Linked DNA regions of Homo sapiens: region 2 is linked to region 1. The links are contacts of gene promoters, found by promoter capture Hi-C in blood cells and fetal thymus (Javierre and others, 2016). All regions are on one chromosome and are shown on one strand. Each heading gives the region's core, a stretch centred on a gene start or on the middle of the fragment in contact. The rest is flanking DNA. Distances are from core to core; before and after follow the strand shown. Region 1 holds the start of TAF4B (TATA-box binding protein associated factor 4b). Region 2 overlaps PSMA8 (proteasome 20S subunit alpha 8).

Region 1 (7,804 bases), core at 3,404-5,903:
ATTGCACTCCAGCCTGGGCAACAAGGGCAAAATCCATCAAAAAAAAAAAAAAAAAAAAAAAAAGCAAAACAACACACCACAAGTTTGTCAATTACTTTGAAGAGGAAATTACATTTTAGTGATTTTCACATGAACATATACTGCTTTTGTAAGTAGAATAAGCAAAGAAATCAAAACTCAACACACTGATATGTGTGATGACCCTCAGAATCCCTTAGGGGCTGCAGCCCTATTGCCCCCTACTCTCTCCATATATGCCTACATTCAAATACTTGAGCGCCTTCGTGCACAACTCACTAGGCCCTGAGGATAGATAATAGCGACATAGAGTCCCTGATTACAGAAGCAGGGACTTGTAATCAAAAAGGACCTTGTAATCAAAAAGAAAACAAAGTGTGGGAGTACTATGAGAGTGAAAGCACGGCATCCAAATGGAAACACGTAACAGGAGAACCTAACCTCACCTTGAGGAAGATCCGCAGGAGAGGAGCACCAGCACTTTCTCCTGTGGGCTGACTACCGACAGAGTAATGCCATGGCCACTATCACTTTACGCCAACTCTACAGTCTGAAAATCAAACAGTGGATGGTGTATGGTGAACACTGAAAAGAATACCCCTCATTTCACAAAGCCCAGCAGCACTGTGACAACTGTGGAAGTGATGATCATGTACACTGTATCCCTTTGATAAAGCCAGAGTGGAAACAAAGAACTTATCCAAGGACTGGATCAAGAAGTTGGGAAAGGAGATGCAAATTCTATGCCCTGTCTCAGCATGAAAACAGGCTGATGAAAAGGGACCTCACTGCTTCATAAGTAACTTTCACACTTTTGTACAGTATGACTGTCATGCAGAATTTATCCCAGTTTATGACCTAAAAGAAGGAATCAAGTCCTTGCTTATCATTCTCAAACAGGTGATAGACAAGATGAAGAATATCAAGAAGAACCACAGTTCAGCCTAAAACCCCACATGTTCACAAAAGACTGAAGAAATTACTGAAAACCTTTTATTAATATTTCCTCAAATATTCTCTTGTGCATTCTTTTTATTTCAAGCTCCTGCTCCCTAGAAAAACCTGTGGTGCATATATATGTATATGTGTGTGTGTGTGTGTATATATATATATATTTTTTTTTTAAACCAGTTCTGTTCATAGATGAAACTCTGAAGTAAAGAGAATCAAATACTTAAAGTATTCATTATCTTGAAAAATGAAGAACTGACATATATAAGCACCCTTGTGTAATCAAGTGCTAATTCTTGGTATGCAAAGGAAATAGTACAAGATTCAGGCCAGCGCAGTGGCTAACGCCTGTAATCCCAGCACTCTGAGAGACCGAAGCAGGCTGATCACTTGAGGTCAGGAGTTCGAGACCAGCCTGGCCAACATGGTGAAACCCCATCTCTACTAAAAATACAAAATTTAGCCGAGCATGGTGGCGTGTGCCTGTAATCCCAGCTACTCGGGAGGCTGAGACGGGAGAATTGCTTGAACCCGGGAGGCGGAGGTTGCAGTGAGCCGAGATTATGCCACTGCACCCCAGCCTGGGCAACAGAGTGACACTCCGTCTCAGAGAAAGAAAAAAAAAAAAAAAAAAGAAAGAAAGAAAGATATAAAAGAAATAGTATAAGATTCATAACCTTTTTAAAAAGTTACTTTAATCAGTGTTTCCATTTTATTCTTCAACTATTGGTTATCTTATTCTATCCAATAAGAGCACAAATGTAGTTAGTACACCCTTCTGCCACACGTCAGCAGAAAATTCCCAAAAGCAAATCCCCACTTCCTCTATAACGACCAATTCCTAAAGACAACTTATCTTCTTTCTCTCTTTTGTATGGGTTTCTCAGAGGTAAATAGCATGCAATGTTTTAATACAGTGCTAGGAACATAATTAGACTATGGTCCTAGTATGCTATTATTTTAACTCTGCCAAGTTTCAGTTTTGGTTCCTTGGTATATAAAATAAAAGACTGGAATCTAAAGTTCTCTGAATCACCTTTCAGTACTGACACTCAATGAGGCATACCGTACACATACAAGTAAAAAAATAAGCATAGCGTTGTGGAAAGAATAAACAGACCTGAGCTAAAACTCCCCCGACACCTATGGGTTGCCTGGCATTGGACAAATTATTTACTCTTAGAGACCTCTTTCCTTATTTGCTACCTACCTATTATGACCAACAAATAAAAGAATATAAATAATTTGTTAAAAGTGCTTAGCATGATAAGGCCCCAATCCTCCAGTAAGTGATTCACTCTCACTTACCAGCAAATTTTCACTCTTGACAGTTCTTTCTTTGGGGGGTTGGGGAGGGATGGGGAGGAACAGAGTCTCACTCTGTTGCCTGGGCTGGAGTGCAGTGGCAAGATATCTTGGCTTACTGCAACCTCCACCTCCCGGGTTCAAGCGATTCTCGTGCCTTAGCCTCTCAGACAGTTCTTTCTTAATACTTTTTTTTTTTGACTATTTATAAACAAACTTCAGTGACTAGACAGGATTTACAGTTTAACAAATTAGGGGGTAATTTCATTCTAACACATTCAGAACTACTTTATAAACATATATGCAGAATAACAACTCAGAATAACAATTTAGAACTGCCAAATAATGTATTCGGTGCTGCACACTGCCGTAACAGTGCCTTAACAATTTTACATACCTTGTATACCATATAAAACTGAAACAGAACTTCATAAAAAGTGAAATCTATCCACAACGTGTATGACTAACTACAACATTAGATACAAAAAGGGTCCCTGTCATTTTATTAGGGGATATAGAATCTTTTGAATCAATGCTTCCCCTTTTTTACCATCTTTGCAGTTCAGAGTTCCAATTACTGCTAAACAAAATTAACAGAAAGCAAACTCCAAGAGACTTTCAGTAAAGAAAGGCTGAACACCCCAAAATCATTCAGCATATTTACAATATGTAAATTATCACAAAGCAAAACCTTTATACAAACCATGAAATACAGCCCAATAGAGTAAAAAGCCCTAGGATAGAAAGTAGTGAAAGACTCATTAACAGTAGCGTTGACACATGGCTTCAATTGCAACTGTAACAATTGCATGACTGATCTGTTTGTCAACTGTGGCACGTGTTCCCAGTCAGGGGTTCTGCTAATTGAAAGTTAGAATCATAAGACATTTAAAGATTGTGCAGGAACAGCATTATTCGTACTTGGTACTAGAAAGCAGTAAACCGATTCTGACTTGGTTAAATTTAAAAATCTCTTTCAGTTGTAATACACAAGAACTTCACTGTTAGGCCGTACGCGGTGGCTCACGCCTGTAATCCCAGCACTTTGGGAGGCCGAGGCGGGAGGATCGATTGGGCCCAGGAGTTCGACGTCGGTGAGCCATGATCGTGTCACTGCACTCCAGACTGGGCGACAGAGCGAAACCATACCTCATTCGTTCATTCATTCATTCATAATTAATAAAATAAGTACAACGCACTTCTACATAATCTAAGCGTATGGAAATCCACGGTATAAACCGGTCCATCCTCCACATGGAAATTAACTTCGGCTATATTATCTCCTCCACCTAAGAGCCAGTGCCTGAAAGCCCCCCCGAATACGCTGATGTAGCTTTTTACTGTATCACTTAGGTGAAAAGATTCTTTCCTTAAATATGAAAAGAAAAACTATGTAGTAATGACACAAAAAGAATATGTTAACTGTAAAGTCAAGATTATGAAATGTTCCCGTGGCTCAGTTTTTTTAGGAGCAATCTGGAGCTGCGAATTTTCCCGTCGCCGCCAGCTGGACCGACAGACAAGGCTGGAAAGGGTTATCAACATACCTGGAGGAAGCTGCAAATTAGCAGGAAACTGGATTGTCGTGGTGTTGGGGGCTTTCACGGCGACTATCTGAGGAGCAGGCAGCCTAGGGCCGCTGCTGACTTTAGGAGGGGCGCTGACCGGAGCCACTTTGGTCACCAGGGTCCCCACGGGGGACCGCAGGGGCTGGGACGCCGTGGGCTCCACGCAGACGCTGACAGGAGCCTTAGTCACGGCGCCCAGGGCCACCGGAGTGCTCTCCACCCGCACCGGCAGCGCCCCGGCCGGGGCCATGGTCACGGTCCCCGAGGCGCTCACAGCAGCCGGGGGAGCGGCGCCGGCGGGTTCGGTGAGGCCGGCGGGCATCCCCCAGGGGCTCAGCGGCAGCTTTGGCGCTGCGGTTCCGGGAGCAGAGGTGAGGGGAGGCTTGGCGCGCGGCAGCCGACTCCGGTGCGGTTCGGGTTCCACAGCATCGCTGGGGAGAGGCGCGGGGGCCGCAGCAGCGAAGTCAGTGACGGGCGCCCGCTGCACGGCAGGACACGCGCGTCCCGGACCTTCCTCTCGTCCGCGCGAGCCTGGGCTGCCCCCGGAGCGACACCCGCCCGACCTCTCGCAGCTTCCTCAGCGGCGCTCACACGTGCGCTGCCTCAGCCCTGCGCCTCAGGCTCGGGTCCCGCTGCGGGGGAGCCTGGACTTGCGGCTCCCGGAAGGTCGTCGCTCACACCTCGAGCCTAACTGCGCAGCTGCTCCCCCGCCAGAAATTTCAAAACTACGAACCCCGAGTGCCCACAGCCCCCTACGCGCGATTGGCACGGCCCCGCCGCGCGGCCACGCCAGCCATGTTTATATAGCCACGCGGAGACCTCGCGCACGCGCCCAGGCCGCCGCCACCGCCCCGGGTTTCCCCGGGATCCGGCCGCGTGATTGGCCAAGGAGCGGAGCCGCGCCCGTGACGTCACTGGGGACGGCTCCAGGGAGCGTTAAAATCTTCCCCAGAATCGCCAGCAAGGAGGGGCGATGCCAGAAACCTATCACGTGGGAGGGGCAAGCTGCACTTGGAAAACTGCGGCATCCGTGTTCCTCTCCTTGTGTCCCCTGTAGTGTGTTCCTCGAAAAGCCAGCACTAGACTATCTCCAGGATTCTATTTTTTAAGGAGAAAATGGGGAGGACTGATTTCCGAGAAGAGTGACTCAATAAGAATTCAATCACGCATTTTCAGTGTTTTTCTCTGCTGTCTTCACACTGAAGCGTTGCTAAAATTCGCAGTTAGAATTGACATTGTAAAAATTAAAATGGCGTATAGTTTTATAGTCTGTGAGATGTGCCTATTTTCATATTTTAGAGTTAAACTGCCTAAAATCTTAAATGGAAAATCGTTTCTTCTTTGGTGCTGCTATAGGTGTCTCTATCACCTCTAAACATTAAAATTGTATGTCTGTCTTCTGAAAAACTTAATGCCTTTTGATATCTATATAATTAGATTCTAGCACTTAGATATTAAGCGTGATCCTAGATATTATCTGGATAAATAAAAGGTGTTGAGTGAATCGATATGAAAAAACTTGCCTGTTTGTAATGCAGTCAGAGAAGATGCCTTAATTTCAAGCTAAAGTCATTATATTGTATGTTTGTAGGAACCAACACTGCACTGAAAGGCGATTTTACAAGTAGGCAGATGCTATGATCTGAATGTTGTGGTGTTTTGTTTTGTTTTGTTTTGTTTTGTTTTGTTTTGGAAACAGGATCTAACTCTGTCACCCAGGCTGGAGTGCAGTGGCACCATTGGCTCATTGCAGCCTCCACCTCCTGGGCTCAAGTGATCATCCTACCCTCCTACCTCAGATTCCCGAGTAGCTGGAACCACAGGGGAGCGGCACTATGCCTAGCAAAAACGGGATCTCGTTATATTGTCCAGGCTGGTCTCCAATTCCTGAGCTCCCGCCTGGGCCTCCCAAAGTGCTAGGATTATACCCCCAACTGAGTGTTAAAATGCTAAAGCTGGAGTTGATAATATTAGAAGGTTGGGCCTTTGAAAGGTGATTAGATCATAAGGGTGGAGCCCTCATGAATGGGATTCCATTCAGGACAAATCATGTTAAAGTGATGAATATGTTAACTTGATTTAATTATTTCACGACACATACAAATGTAACATGATACCTCATAAATACATACAATTATTATTTGTTAGTTAAATACATTAAATAAATAATTTTTTTAAAAAAAGAAACCTCAGAAAGATCCCTCACCCCTTCCAGCAAGTGAGGTTATGGTAAAAAGACTGCTGTCTAGAAAGTAGACTCTCATCAGATACCACATCTGCCTTGATCTTGAACTTCCCAACCTCTGGAATTATGGGACATGAATTTCTCTTTTTATAAGCTACCCAGTTTATGATATTTCATTATAGAAGCCCGAGTGGACTAAAATAGCAGGCAACCTGATGGTTACAGCTCCTGCTTTTCCCCCTCTCTGTAAACGTGTGCCGGCACGTTTAGATAAGATCTACTCACAAGATCTAGTAAAGTCCACACACTTACTACCTTTACTGTCTCTCACTTCTTGACCAGTCTAAATCCATCTCATGACCTAAACCAATCACCCTCCCTTTCTATGGTGAATTCCCTGATCACTTACCTTCTAGCAAATGCCTCAAAGTGGAGTTGGGGAGAGAAAAACTCAATTTATTGAGCACCTCCTGTGTGCTGGTCACCAAGAGATGCATTTCCTTTTTCTAACTGCTTCATTTTACAAACTTAAAAACTGCAGTTAAAAGAGTAATGTTTCCAAGAAGCTGGAATTCAAACTCATCAGTATGATGCCAAAGTACATCTCTTTCCATTACTCCAAAACGTCTGATTAATCATGTATCCCACAGTGCCCTTGGCAAAATGCCTTGAGCATAAAAGGCATTTAATAAATACTTGCTAAGGTAATGAATTGAATGAAGCTATGCAACATTTTCAGTGAAGCAAAATGGTGTAGTGTATTTGAATCTTAGATATGTTCTTCACTAACTGGCCAAATTATCCCCGATTTTTTTCCCTCCATATAGTATGTTTCAATAGATACTTGGGTACGGAAGCATCAAAGTTTGTTTATAGAACTCTCCCTTTCTAAATTTCCACTAGACCCCCACCATCAATTCACACACTTTGTTTAGATAGGCAATTAACCTCCACCATCAAATTACAAAGAGACTTGGTTGGGGAACTATATTTTTTCATAAAGTTAACCTCATGCATTTCCCTCTCTCTCTCTCTCTCTGGTGTATGTGTGTGTGTGTGTGTGTGTGTGTGTGTGTGTGTGTTTCGGCAGGGCAGGGCTGGGTGGGGGTGAGGTCGTGCAAGGGAGAACAGGGTATCCCTGTCTCTGTCACCCAGAGTAGTTCAGTGAGGCCATCATGGCTCACTTGCAGCTTCAACCTCCTGGGCTCAAGAAATCCTTTCACCTTAGCCTCCCAAGTAGCTGGGGACCACAGGCTGTACCACCATGCCTGGCTAATTTTGTTTGTTTGCTTGTTTGTTTGTTTTGCAAAGACAACGGTCTAACTGTTAGGTTGGTGCAAAAGTAATTTCGGCAATATGTTGCCAAGGCTGATTTCAAACTCTTGGACTCAAGTGATCCTCCTGTCTCAGACTCCCAAAGTGCTGGGATTACAGGCGTGAGCCACCCATTTTTCTTATAATTGTTTATAATATGCAAATGCCTGATGTGGTGGTTCCTGCCTATAATCCTAGCACTTTGAGAGGCCTCAAGCAGGAGGATTGCTTGAGGCCAGGAGTTTGAGACCAGCCTGACCAACATGGCGAAACCCCCTCTCTATTAAAAATACAAAAATTAGCTGGGCTTGGTGGTACACACCTGTAATCCCATCTAATTGGGAGGCTGAGGTAGGAGAATCGCTTGAACCTGAAAGACAGAGGTTGCAGTGAGCTGAGATCGTCCCACTGCACTCCAGCCTAGGTGACAGAGCAAGACTCCATCTCAAAAGAAAAAAACAAT
Region 2 (6,944 bases), core at 1,638-4,137, 51 kb after region 1:
TATCAGAATAGTCTGTAATGGTGGCATGGTTTTTATTTTCCTTTTTTTGTTTGTTTTAGAGATGGGATCTCACTCTGTTGCCCAGGCTGGAGTGCAGTAGTGGCACAATTATAGCTCACTGCAGCTTTGATCTTCTGGGCTTAAGTGATTTTCCCACCTGAACCTCCTGAGTAGCTGGGACTACAGGTATGCATCACCACACTCAGCTGATTATTTTTTTGGTAGTCTTGCTATGTTGCCCAGGCTGTTCTCAAACTCCTGGCCTCAAGTGAGCCTCCTGTCTCAGCCTCTCAAAGTGTTGGGATTACAGGCGTGAGCCACAACATCTGGCCAACTTTTTCTTTTAAATATACCAATGCTTTGTCCTGGCTAACACTTTCTATTAATATAATGTCTCCCAAATCCTTGATAACCAGAAATTATTTTATTTATATATTCTTTTGAAACAGGGTCTCACTTTGTGGCCCAGGCTGGAGTGCAGTGGTATGATCACTGCTCACTGTAGCCTTGGCCTTCTGGGCTCAAGGTATCTTCCTACCTCAGACTCCCAAGTAGCTGGGACTATTGGTACGTGGCACCACACTTGGCTAATTTAAAAAAGAATTTTTTTTAGAGATAGGGTCTTGCTATGTTGCCCAGGTGGGTCTCGAACTCCTGGACTCATGTGATCCTCCCAGCTTGGCCTCCCAAAGTGCTGAGATTACAGGCATGAGCCACTGTGACTGGCTCAGAAAAGATTTTAAAAAGCTGAAACTTGAAAAGATGTGGAGAGGCAAGGAGCTATAACTTTACAATATGGCACAAAAAGAAGAAAGCAAAGAGAGGGGAAAAAAATGACATCAACATGAAGAAAGCTATTTACCTAAGTTGGGCTGAGCACTATTTTTGTAGATTTTAGAATAAGTATAGTGGTAACCTAATTGATTTGTTATCATCTTTGACTCTTAAGCAAGAAGGGCTTCTATTCCTTTCCTCTTTTCTTTGTTCTTTACACATTTTCATCAGATGAAGGAAAAATGCAAATGGATTTTCCTGGCTGCATGGCTATGGGTAGAAGGCAGCATATTCTTTTAATTCAGCCTAAATATCCAGATTAGTACTCCTGATGGTAATAAGATTTTAAATTTTATATTAACAGAACACTTATGTGTCAGGCACTAGGTTAGGCATTTTACATGGATTATCTCATCTAACCATCACAAAAATGATTAAATAGGTACTGTTACTAACCCCAATTCTTGGATGTAGAAATGGAGGTTTGGAAAGGTTAAAATAGGCTTTCTCAATATCATCACTGTTCACATTTTGGGCCAGCTAATCCTCTGTTGTGAGGGCTGTCCTGTGTATTGTGGGATTTTTAGCTGCCTCCACAAACTAAATGCCAGCAGCAACTCCCACCCCAGTTGTGACAACCAAACATATCTCTTGTCAAAGACATTGTCAAATGTCTTTTAGGTGGGACAAAATCAGCTGTTGGTGAATTACTGACTCAAGTAATCTTGGCCAAGATCATGCAGAGAGTAAGCAGAAGAGCTAAGCTTTGAAACCGTGGTCTGAATCAACAAGCCAAGCTTTTAACTTGATACACTATGCTGCCACATGCCCCTTTCCTAGGATGATTACAGAGTAAAAAGAACAAACACAAAGGTCTATCCTTTCACTGGCATTAAATGGGGGAATGTCTCAGTTATAACTGTTTAGTATTATTATTATTATTATTTTCTTTTTTGAGACTGTCTCACTCTGTCGCCCAGGCTGGAGTGCAATGGCGTGATTTCGTTTCACTGCAACCTCTGCCTCCTGGGCTCAGGCAATTCTCCTGCCTCAGCCTCCCGAGTAGCTGGGATTATAGGTGTCTGCCACCATGCCCAGCTAATATTTTTATTTTTAGTAGAGATGGGGTTTCACCCTGTTGGCCAGGCTGGTCTCAAACTCCCGACTTCAGGTGATCTGCCTGCCTCAGCCTCCCAAAGTGCTGAGATTACAGGTGTGAGCCACTGTGCCTGGCCAACTGTTTAGTATTATGATTATGGGAAAGAGATCTCAAAGGAGATTTTAGGACATAAACATGAAAACACACCATTTATATTACATTATATAACAATATACTATTCTGGTTAGCAAAAGATTATTTTTACTTTATATAATTTTTCTATGCCATTATATTTCAGAGGATTAATATAAGTAGCTGTTGAAACTTCTAAATTAAATTTTGTGGCCTTGAAATTTCACCAAGATCAAAGGTAAAGCCTTCAGCCTGGCATGACTTTGAAATCTATTTGCTACTAGGTTTGTTTGTTTGTTTTTTGGTAACTAGTTGCTACCCAGAGAGGAAGTACATAGTTAGTGGCTTCAGGTAGTGGTTTATCCAAAAACTTCACTGGGCCTTTAAAGTCACCCTGCACATTTCTGGTGACTTTCCTATCCACTTCTTCCAATTCTTAATGTCAAAATCTTTAACTCTTACCCACCTGACTTGTTTTCTAAAATCTATCCTGTTCTTGCCACACTCAGATCCCCACCCTCCCTTGCCCCATCACCCACCCCAGTCCACTTCAATAATGACTGGTAGTTTTGCAATGCTTTTCCTACCTGCCTCCTCAGATTAATGATGATTTTCTGCAGCAAAGACTATTAGCTGACAACCCTAATATCCATTCTTCCTTTGTGACAGAACTCTAGGCAATGTGACTACTGAAAAATGTCACTTCCTAGCTTCTCTTACAAATAGGTATACACAGGTGGAAGTCACTGGGTGAAGCTCCTAGGAACCTTTACTGCCTAGAATGCAGACATATTGGCTAGAGGTCTAGCAGCTATCTTGAGAGCATGGAAAAAGACTAAGACTAAAAGAGACAAATACCAGCATCTGCCTACTTTCAGACTTTTCATTATGTGAGAAAAATCAATCTTAAGTGTTAAGCATCATCAGGTCTTTGTTGTTAGGAGATAAAAACAATCTCACTTGACAGACCTCGGAAGTGCATCCTGTGACATACTGCCCCATACACCTCCAGAAACAAAAACCTTATTCCTGTGGCTACTGGAAGTGGTAATGGCAGACAGCCCTCAGCTCTTAACTCCCTTGGGAAGGTTCCCTGGTTAACAAGAGCTCCCTCAGGTAAGGTCATGTGCTCTTCCAGGGCCAGCCTACACTGACTCAGTGACGAAGAGTATCAATGTGCAGTCCCTTCACCCCAAGTTAGAACAGCTCTGATGAGCCACTACAGATCCAGAGCACTCCATGGTGTCAACTGAAGCCTTTATTGCGACTACAATGCAGCCCAATGTCTCCCTCTGCCCCATCCTGATCCCTTCCCTTCAACAAATGCTGATACCAATGGCACTTCCTAATATCTTATAAAATAATAATCTTCCCATGAGGCTATGTGACCCTAAGGAAGGACAAGGTCTCTGCTAACAAGTGCAAAGCAGCTTTTCTCATCTGAAGGCTTGCTAACTTCCAGAGTAAATCTTCAATGAGCTCTCCCACACTAAGAAAAAGAGATGTGGAAATGAGCAAAAAACTCTACTCACAATAAATAAATCACAATTTCCATTATTTTGAAGTATAAACAACAGAAGGCAAAACTGGTCAAGTGTTGTCAGAAACAATAAATTGGAGGATTATATTAAACAGCTTTTAAAGTCTTTTCAGCCCTGAGGTTCTTAGTTTTTATGGCAGCATTTTCCAAAGTGAATCCCACAAAACATCAGAGTAGAGAAAGGATTTATGATCAAAGGGCTCTACGTTCAAGTAATCTTGGGGACTACTATTTTACCTGCTTCTAGAAGATTTAAATGCTTTTTAGCAGATCCAGATGTACTTTGGTAACAAAACTTACTAAATTTCTTTAAATAGCTAACAAAATTACTTAGCTAGAGAGCTTGTTTACCTAATACCTGTTAACATGAAAAGAAATGCATTTTGAGAAACATTGCTCAGAAGTATACGACGTAGTTAACATTCTTACCATTTTGAAACATTATGGCCCATACTGACAAGAGCAAAACATGCCCCTTAATCATTAACATCATTAATCAGGGTGGGGCTTAAGTCTATGCAGGTGGGTCTCCTTAAAATAGTATAGAATAGCTTTTAAATTAAGTAACCACTTCAATGCACAGCATATTAGATGCCAGTTTTCATCAATGTTCTTTATGAGCTAATTTTATTTAAAAACTTTAAAAATGCAAGCTTTTCAAGAAATACACAGTAAACTGAAACAAAGTTTTGAATATAAAATTTGAGTGCTAATGGCCAGACTGGCATTCCTACAAATCTACAAGCTATATTGTAAGTGAAAGGAAGAATATTTTAAAAAATGTGTACAACTTCTTAGATACACACTTAAATACCAATATCTTAGAACTAATAAGCAAGAACATATTCAATTCCTGCCACTAAATGTCTATAAAATATTATTTTGAAAAATCAGTAAAATACGATTATAGTCAAAGTAGGCATTTAGAAGCATCATTTCATGATCCGAATGCTATAAATATTACGTTTTCACTCTAAAATATAGGATTAGTGTTTGCTGTAAAATGAAACTTGAATGCTTAAAACACAAACTTCCCTTACTAAATTGTCAACAGAAGAAATGAAACAATTTTAAAAAGCTGTAAGAATTACTAATGCTTCAAAAGTTCAAAGGGAGAGAATATTTCTAGCTGAGAATCAAGTAGACAGCATTATGTTATTATCTAGTATTCATTTATTTGTTAAATAACGTATGACCACCTTGTATATAAGGTTCAATTCTAAGCACTAGTGTGTCAACAGTATAAAAAGTAGACAAAAGGCCGGGCGTGATGGCTCACACTTGTAATCCCAGCACTTTGGGAGGCCGAGGCAGGTGGATCACCTGAGGTCAGGAGTTTGAGACCAGCCTGACCAACATGAAGAAACCCCATCTCTACTAAAAATACAAAATTAGCCAGGCGTGGTGGCACATGCCTGTAATCCCAGCTACTTGGGAGGCTGAGGCAGGAGAATCGCTTGAACCTGGGGGGTGGAGGTTGCAGTGAGCCCAGATCGTGCCATTGCACTCCAGCCCGGGCAACAAGAGCAAAACTCCATCTCAAAAAAAAAAAAAAGTAGACAAAAATCCCTGCACTCATAGACCTTAAAGCTTAGTGGGGGAGAGATAGATAATAAACAAGGTAAACAAGGAAATATGTAAAATAAACAGTACATTAGTTGTTATGAGAGAAGTAAAGCCAGGATAGGAAATAAAGAGCATTGAGAATGGGCTACAGTGCTAGAAAGGCCAGTTAGGAGGGGCTTCACTCAGAGGGTGAGGATGGTAGCCATGCAGATATCATGCAAGCTCTGGGCAGAGGAAACAATAAGGAAGAACAAAAGTTAAAAGCCCTGAGGAAAGTACACATCTGGCCTCTGAAGAACAGTAAAGAGGCCAGTGTGGCTGAGTAGGAAAGCAACGGAGGAGTTAATAAGCTTCGGGTTGGAGAGTTGAGGTGGGGGCCAGATAAGGTTAGACCACTGTAAGGGCTTTGGTTTTTACTCTGACTTACTTGGGAGGCAAGAGGGGATTTTGAACAGAGAGGTGACCTGATCTGACTTAAATTTTAACAGAATCACACTGTTCACAATTAGAGTGCACATTCTTTCTGGGTGTGCCAAGAACGCATGGCCTTGACCACTCTTGATGGGGCTATTCCTCAGGACTGTATTAGTGGCCAACAACCCTGAGGAATAAGGTCACGTCTTTCTGCAGAAAAAGAAGAAGCTTGTTCACTGCCTATTACAAAAGTGGTAGATTCCCCAAGTTCAGGGTTTCTTAGCTATTATTAAGAAGACCCATCATATCCACCTGCTTCCTCTGTGCCACCAATGGCACTTGGCAGGCATAAGGAACTGGCACCATCACGAAATGCATGCTGTTTGCTGCAAAATGAGGTGGTAGTTGGAAGCAATGTGTGACCAACAGAGGCTTTTCTTTTTTTTTTAAGAGAATGTAACTGTACTTTTTAAATTGATTTATTATTAAATAATAATGGATTGGATACCCCAAGTGGCATATGGCTTCTCAACTGGTCTCTAAGACCAATTACTTCCATATGCAGCTTAACCCTGTGCTCAGGAAACCTCCTCTATAAGGTTTGTATCACATTGCTACATACCTATAAACCAATGCTATATATAGTCTAGGGGTCAGAAAATTATAGCCTGCAAGTCAGTTCCCTGTTTTTGTAAACAAAGAATTATTGGTACATCACTATGCCCATTTATTTATGTAAATCTATTTCCAGTCTATTTCTAGTTTATGCTACTATGGTAAAGTTTAGTAGTTGCAACAGAGACTGCAATGCCTACATGGCTAAAATATTTACCATCTGGCCCTATAAGAAGTTTTCTGTTCCCTGCTACAGATCAGCAATTTATACTCTTAAAAATTATTGGGAACTCCAAAGTGCTTTTGTTTGTGTTATACTTTTTGGTATTTACTGTATTATTGTTGAGAGATATCATGTGCCTTGGGCTGTCAGACAAGGCTCTGTTTTTCAGGGTTGTCTATGCAGCTGGTAATCTTGAGATAAAGATGTCATTCCTCAGATAAAGGGCAGGCTACCTTATTGCTTGCTATAAAACAAGGAGACTCTCCATGCTTGGTGTTCCTTAGCTGTGAAGCAAACCAACTTTGTTCACAGCATTCAACCAGGCCATATTACATCAACTCTGTGGGTCTTGAGGATAAAGGGAATCTATGCAAATATGCTGATACTCATGCTGTTTGATGTGCCATGAGTAATAAAGTCTTTGTTTCTGACCCAGAGGGTCTTGTGTCTTCTGCCAGTATCCATGAAACAGCAACAGGCTAATTTTATTAGTATGTAAGTAGTGTAAAATCAAATTCCAGACCCAATAATGAGAAACTGAAACTAAGACTTTTTTTTTTTTTGAGACGGAGTCTCACTCT

What was found. Contacts are between HindIII fragments. The CHiCAGO score rates a contact against its expected background, and 5 or more counts as called.
Region 2: a contact is called between a fragment that was not itself captured here and the fragment with the promoter of TAF4B in region 1, in 2 of 17 cell types (activated CD4 T cells and naive CD8 T cells). The highest score is 5.5, in activated CD4 T cells.

What each region holds. Positions count from the first base shown.
Region 1 is chr18:26,223,294-26,231,097 of GRCh38, reverse strand. It overlaps TAF4B (TATA-box binding protein associated factor 4b), which reads right to left and starts at 4,653. Exons shown (of 15, transcript NM_005640.3): 1 at 3,822-4,653. The coding sequence starts at 4,164. RefSeq lists a silencer at 4,014-4,173 and enhancers at 4,824-4,923, 4,954-5,023. The HindIII fragment of the contact is 8,704 bases long and covers 1-7,804 here.
Region 2 is chr18:26,171,716-26,178,659 of GRCh38, reverse strand. All of the region lies in intron 4 of PSMA8 (proteasome 20S subunit alpha 8), which reads right to left. Among named protein-coding and RNA genes, the nearest start is that of PSMA8, 41 kb to the right of the region's middle. The HindIII fragment of the contact is 2,627 bases long and covers 1,574-4,200 here.